2 separate regions of the Homo sapiens genome follow, and region 2 is linked to region 1. Evidence: promoter capture Hi-C in 16 types of primary human blood cells and fetal thymus (Javierre and others, 2016). All regions are on one chromosome and are shown on one strand. The core of a region is centred on a gene start or on the middle of the fragment in contact, and the rest is flanking DNA. Distances in the headings are between cores, read along the strand shown. Region 1 holds the start of GALR3 (galanin receptor 3). Region 2 overlaps EIF3L (eukaryotic translation initiation factor 3 subunit L).

What was found. Contacts are between HindIII fragments. The CHiCAGO score rates a contact against its expected background, and 5 or more counts as called.
Region 2: a contact is called between a fragment that was not itself captured here and the fragment with the promoter of GALR3 in region 1, in 3 of 17 cell types (megakaryocytes, naive CD4 T cells and naive CD8 T cells). The highest score is 5.6, in megakaryocytes.

What each region holds. Positions count from the first base shown.
Region 1 is chr22:37,821,761-37,824,797 of GRCh38, reverse strand. It overlaps GALR3 (galanin receptor 3), which reads right to left and starts at 1,416. Exons shown (of 2, transcript NM_003614.2): 1 at 1,033-1,416; 2 at 1-75. The coding sequence starts at 1,391. The HindIII fragment of the contact is 26,563 bases long and covers 1-3,037 here.
Region 2 is chr22:37,859,462-37,862,498 of GRCh38, reverse strand. All of the region lies in intron 5 of EIF3L (eukaryotic translation initiation factor 3 subunit L), which reads right to left. Among named protein-coding and RNA genes, the nearest start is that of EIF3L, 12 kb to the right of the region's middle. The HindIII fragment of the contact is 1,721 bases long and covers 625-2,345 here.

The DNA.
Region 1 (3,037 bases), core at 167-2,666:
AGCCCCACTGCGGCGCGGGCGTTACGCGGCGTGCGCAGGGCGCGCGAGCGCAGCGGGTGCCGCACGGCCAGGTACCTGCGGAGGGCGCCTGGTCAGCGGGGCGGGCAGGTGCCCTCCCGCAGGGGCCCGCGCCACGTCCCGCGCCCGGGCCCTGCGGCCCAGTGCGCCTCCTGTGAACCGTGGGGGACGTGGCGGGGATTAAGGGTGTGAACGCGCAAGGTGCTTAGGCCCTTGCACCTAGCAAGGGCCCGATCCCGGTGACTTGTTATTTCTAGGATTATTTTATGGATGCGTCAGATGAGGTCCAGAGAGAAGTGACTTGCCCAGGGTCATCAGCTGGAGTGAGCCTGGATTTGACCCCAAGTTTCAAGCTGTGGAAGCAGATGTGTGCACAGCTTGGCCAGGTGTGGGCAGTTAGAAAATAGCTGGGCTGGGCGCGGTGGCTCACGCCTGTAATCCCAGCACTTGGGAGGCCGAGGCGGGCGGATCACTTGAGGTCAGGGGTTCGAGACCAGCCTGTCCAACATGGCAAAACCCCGTTTCTACTAAAAATACAAAAAATTAGCCAGGTGTGGTGGCCTGTAATCCCAGCTACTCAGGAGGCTGTGGCAGGAGAATCGCTGGAACCCAGGAGGCAGAGGTTGCAGTGAGCCAAGATCCAAAAAAAAAAAACAACAAAACAAAACAAAACAAAAAAACTGATGAACGCATTCGTGAGCTTCTTTTGCGATTCATTTCGCGCTTACAGAGCACTTACTATGTGCCAGACCCTGTGCTGCCACTTGAGACTCAGAGGCGTCCTCTGGAAGTTCACAGTGGAGGAGGGGAAGGGCAGGACAGTCCCCTCAAGCACGCCCTGCAGGTGCCCAGAGGCTGCTTGCGAGGGGTCAGGGAGCTTTTGTTTCCTCCCACCCACCTCCCTTTCTGGTCCCCCACTCTCTCCTTCCTAAGGCCAGTGAGGATCTGTTCAGGACTCCTCCCCCAACCCCCGCCCCCACAGCCCTGCCCAGCCAGGCCCCAGGCACAGCGCACCTGTCCACGGAGACAGCAGCCAGCGTAAAGCTGCTGGCGTACATGGTGAGGTAGATGAGCAGGTGCACGGCCTTGCAGACGAGGGCCCCAAAGAGCCAGGCATCCAGCGTGTAGATGGTGGCCTGGAAGGGCACGCAGCACAGGATGAAGCAGAGGTCAGCCACCGCCAGGTTGAGGATGAACAGGTCCGTGGTGCTGCCAGGCTCCTGCCAGGCACTCGGGCCAGGCTGCAGGAGCACTGCCAGCACCAGCCCATTGCCCACTGTGCCCAGCAGGAAGATTAGGGCAAAGACCACAGGCACTGCCACGGCCCCCACACTCCCTGGGCTGTCCAGTGAAATGTTCTGGGCATCAGCCATCTCCCCATCAGACGGGCACCTGGGAAGAGAAGCTGGAATCCTCAGGCAAGAGCCCCCAGTTCTGGTTGCTTGACCCCGGGATCTAACTCCCCCGACCTGGGTCTGGCCAGGTGTTCTGGGCTGGAAGCTCGTGGGAGATGGAGGAGGGGAGAGCAGAGCCAAAGTCATCGCTGAGTGTCACTGTGTGAGCAAGCTCGTGGTGTTCAAGGGGTGAGAGTTCCTCAGTTTCCTAAGGAACACCCCTGGAGTCCTGCCTGGAGGACTACCTAGGTATTTGAGGGACACTTTCAACCCACGAGGCTGGGGAAGGCACAAGCGAAGTAGGATGAAGATATGGCGATGGGGGGAGGGGCCAAACCCAGAAACTGGTATGTTTTCCTTCTCAATGGGGATCTGAAGCTCAGGGGAGACCCTGGGACATGGGTTTAGGGCTTTCTCTGGCTACAAGCTGTAGCCTTAGCAAAACACGGGTAACATCCCTGAGTCATTGGAGGGTCCAGTATAGTGAGATCATCACAATGGCAAAACTGGGAAGACCGTGTAGGTCACTGCTTCCTCTCTGCACATAGGGAAATTGAGGCCCAGAGAGGGGACATGGGAGGATAATATCACACTCGAAATGGCAGCTCTGGGGCTGTTGCCACCCTGGTATCCTGCCTCTTAAGCTAGAGTGCTCATCTGAGAGCTTGTAACAGGTGGTGCCTCTGACAACTTGTGTGTGTGCACACCGCACCCATGCTCACCCCCATCCCACTCTACAGCCCATGTCTCCTACTGCCTGTGGATCTCCTTGCAGGCTTGAGACCACTGGGGTGGTGGGACAAAGTAGGGGAAAGGGGGGTCAGGCAGGGAGTAGGGAAGAAAGGCAATGTCTGCCCCCATCCCAGCACCCAGCATGCAGTAGGTCCCCAAAGCCCAGGATGGGCAACACCCACCTCCGCCTTGGGCAGTGGGCTTGATCCTGGGTGGAATGGCCGGGCTGGGTGGGCCTCCTGATTCAGCGGCTGCCCCTTGGTGCCTCCCTGCAGGTACTGGTCTGCCTTCTACTTCTCCCCCTTTGCCTTTAAGGCCCCTCCTCTCCTCTGCCCCCTCTGCTGAGCCGGAGTTGGGCACTCCCTCTGGAGTAGCCACTGGCCACTTCCTCCTCAGTCCCTGATTTCCCCCAGGTGGCAGGCTCTTCTGCCTGGCTCTTCTCTGCCTCTCTGCGTTGCTGCTGCCTTTTCCTCTCTCTGCAGCCAGTAACCCATTGATCTCGCTCTCTGTGATTTGCTTTGTAGTTAACCCCTCTGTGCCCAGGGCCCAGCCAGTCTCTGGCACTCCCACCTCCTGTGGCCCAGCCTGATGTGACTCCATCCCCTATCCCTGCACCTTCTTGCTCCAATCCATGTTTAGAAAAGGTTCCTAGGCCGGGCATGGTGGCTCACGTCTGTAATCCCAGCACTTTGGGAGGCTGAGGCAGGCAGATCACTTGAGGCCAGGAATTCGAGACCAGCCTGGCCAATGTGGCGAAACCTTGTCTCTACTAAAAATACAAAAATTAACTGAGCGTCGTGGCGGGCGCCTGTAATCCCAGCTACTCTGGAGGCTGAGGCAGGAGAATCGCTTGAACCTGGGAGGTGGAGGTTGCAATGAGCCGAGATGACGCC
Region 2 (3,037 bases), core at 236-2,735, 38 kb before region 1:
AAGTTTTACTGGAACACAGCCATGCCCACTCATTACATATTGTTGATAACTGCCACAAAGACATAGCTGAACAGATCTGACAGAAACCATCATGGCCCTCGAGACTAAAATACTTATTATCTGACCCTCCACAGAGAAGGTGGCTGACCCCTGGTCTGGTCTTTATGTTGCTTGCATCTGAGAACCACTGATAGTTTCTGAGCTGGGGAACCATACCATGAGCAATGTATTTGTGATGGAGAAGAAACACAACTTTGGAGTCAGTCCCACCTCTTATTAACTGTGGGGTTCTCACAAGGTATTTAATCTCTGTAAAATGTGGGCAAAAGATTGTTGACTAGTCACAATGAAGTAAGATTATATAGCTGGGCGCAGTGGCTCACGCCTGTAATCTCAACACTCTGGGAGGCTGAAGTGGGCTGATCACCTGAGGCCAGGAGTTTGAGAACAGGCTGGGCAACATGGCAAGACCCCGTCTCTGTTTAATAAAAGTTATGTAAGGTGCTTAATACATTAAGCACAATCTAAGCACATTCAATGAAAAACTGCTTCCCAAGGGCTTAAAACTGGTCATTTATGTAGGAGTCCTGGTAGCTAATAAAAAGATAACAGCATCAATAAGCTTCTGCTGAATCTTCATCTACAGACCAAACAGAGAGATTAGAGGTGGTAAAACCAGCTATACTATGGGCTATGGTGTCATGGTGTTCCCAAAAAAGCAGTGTACACATAATGGCTAGATTCTTAGCATATCCACAAAGTACCTGAACTTTAGCATCAATGGTAGTAGGGAATCTTTACTTTTTTTTTTTTTTGAGACGGAGTCTCGCTCTGGTGCCTAGGCTGGAGTGCAGCGGTGCAATCTCAGCTCACTGCAACCTCTGCCTCCTGGGGTCAAGTGATTCTTCCGTCTCAGCCTCCCGAGTAGCTGGGATTACAGGCACACGCCACCACGCCTGGCTAATTTTTGTATTTTTAGTAGAGACGGGGTTTCACCATATTGGTCAGGCTGGTCTCGAACTCCTGACCTCGTGATCCACCCGCCTTAGCCTCTCAAAGTTCTGGGATTACAGGCGTAAGCCACAGCGCCTGGCCAGGAATCTTTACTTTCTATCAGATAAAGTAGTCAGAGATCCCGCTGGGATGCCGGAAAAACATGGCCCCTTACTCTGGCAGCAAGAACTTTTCCACCTACCACTACTGACAGTGGCTCCTGTGGCCAAGGCAGGAGTTCTAGCCATATCAAGCGGTCCTCAAGGAGAAGAGGGGTGAGTAACTGTGAGAAACTAGGACCTCCTTAGGTGGAGATCTTGGTGCCAATTTCCTTCACTTACACATGCATGCAAGCACACACATGCTCAATTAACACCATTATGACCAGACATTATTCTAGGCACTGGATTATATTGGTGAACAAGACAAGCACATACCCCGGTGGAGTTAACCTTCCAGTAGATTAAGAAACTCCCTCCCCTAAATAAACAAATACAACGTACAAGAGATAAGTGCTCTGAAGTGCCACGAATATTGCCAGGAGCCCAGGGAGGGAGGGGGAAAGTTTCAGGAAATGAGTGAGAAGGGAAACAGGGCTAAAACCTGGAATTAGTAAGTGTGATGGGAAGTCATGGTAGGATTGGAAGTGACCTGATGAAACTATGTAGCAAAAGGATCATGCTGGTTATTATGTTGAGAATAAACAGCCAAGAGTGGAAACTGACACCAGGTAAGCAGCTCCTGCAGTAATTCAGGGAAGAGATGATAATGACTTCAACTAGGTGAGCAGCAGTGTGGCAGTGAAAAGTGGCTGATTCAAGAAGTATGCTGAAGGCCAGGCACAGTGGCTCACGCCTGTAATCTTAGCACTTTGGGAAGCCGAGGCGGGCGGATTACCTGAGGTCAGGAGTTCGAGACCAGCCTGGGCAACATAGCGAAACCCTGTCTCTACTAAAAATACAAAAATTAGCCAGGCGTGGTGGTGCATGCCTGTAATCCCAGCTACTCAGGAGGCTGAGGAAGGAGAATCGTTTGAGCCTGGAGAATTGCTTGAGCCCAGGAGACAGAGGTTGGAGTGAGCCGAGACGGCGCCACTGCATTCCAGCCTGGATGACAGAGCGAGACTCCGTCTCAAAAACAAAACAAAATAAAACAAAACAACAAAAAGAAGTATGTTGAAGACAGAGCTTAACAGGATTTGCTGGATATCATGTCAGAGAAAAGTCAAGAATAATGCCAAGGCTTTTAGTCCAATTAACTTGGTAATAAACGGTAGCATTTATTGAGATGATTACCATGAGAAAAACTAGTTTAGAGGGAAAATAAGAATTCAGTTTTAGATGTGTTAAGCTTCAGATGACTCAGACAGCCAAGTGCAGATGCTGACAGCTGAATATACAAGTCTGGACTTCAGTGGGGCAACTGAGGCTAAAGATAGAGATTAAGTCATTGGTGTATATAAATAATACAGATGGCATTTTTCTTTTCTTTTTGAGACAAGAGTCTCACTCTGTCACCCAGGCTGGAGTGCAGTGGTACGATCTCGGCTCACTGCAACCTCCGCTTCCCGGGTTCAAGCGATTCTCCTGCCTCAGCCTTCCAAGTAGCTGGGATTACAGGCACCCGCCACCACGCCCAGCTTATTTTTGTAGTTTCATATTTTTAATAGAGACGAGGTTTCTCCATGTTGGCCAGGCTGGTCTCAAATTCCTGACCTCAGGTGACCTGCCCTTAGCCTCCCAAAGTGCTGGGATTATAGGCGTGAGCCACCGCGCCCAGCCTTAAATAGTACAGATGGCATTTTAAGAAACTTTAGGCACTCTAGGCCGGGCGTGGTGGCTCACGCCTGTCATCCCAGCACTTTGGGAGGCCAAGGCGGGCGGAACACGAGGTCAGGAGATGGAGACCATCCTGGCTAACACAGTGAAACCCCGTCTCTACTAAAAATACAAAAAAATTAGCCAGGTGTGGTGGCAGGCACCTGCAATCCCAGCTACTCAGGAGGCTGAGGCAGGAGAATGGCGTGAACCTGGGAGGTGGAGCC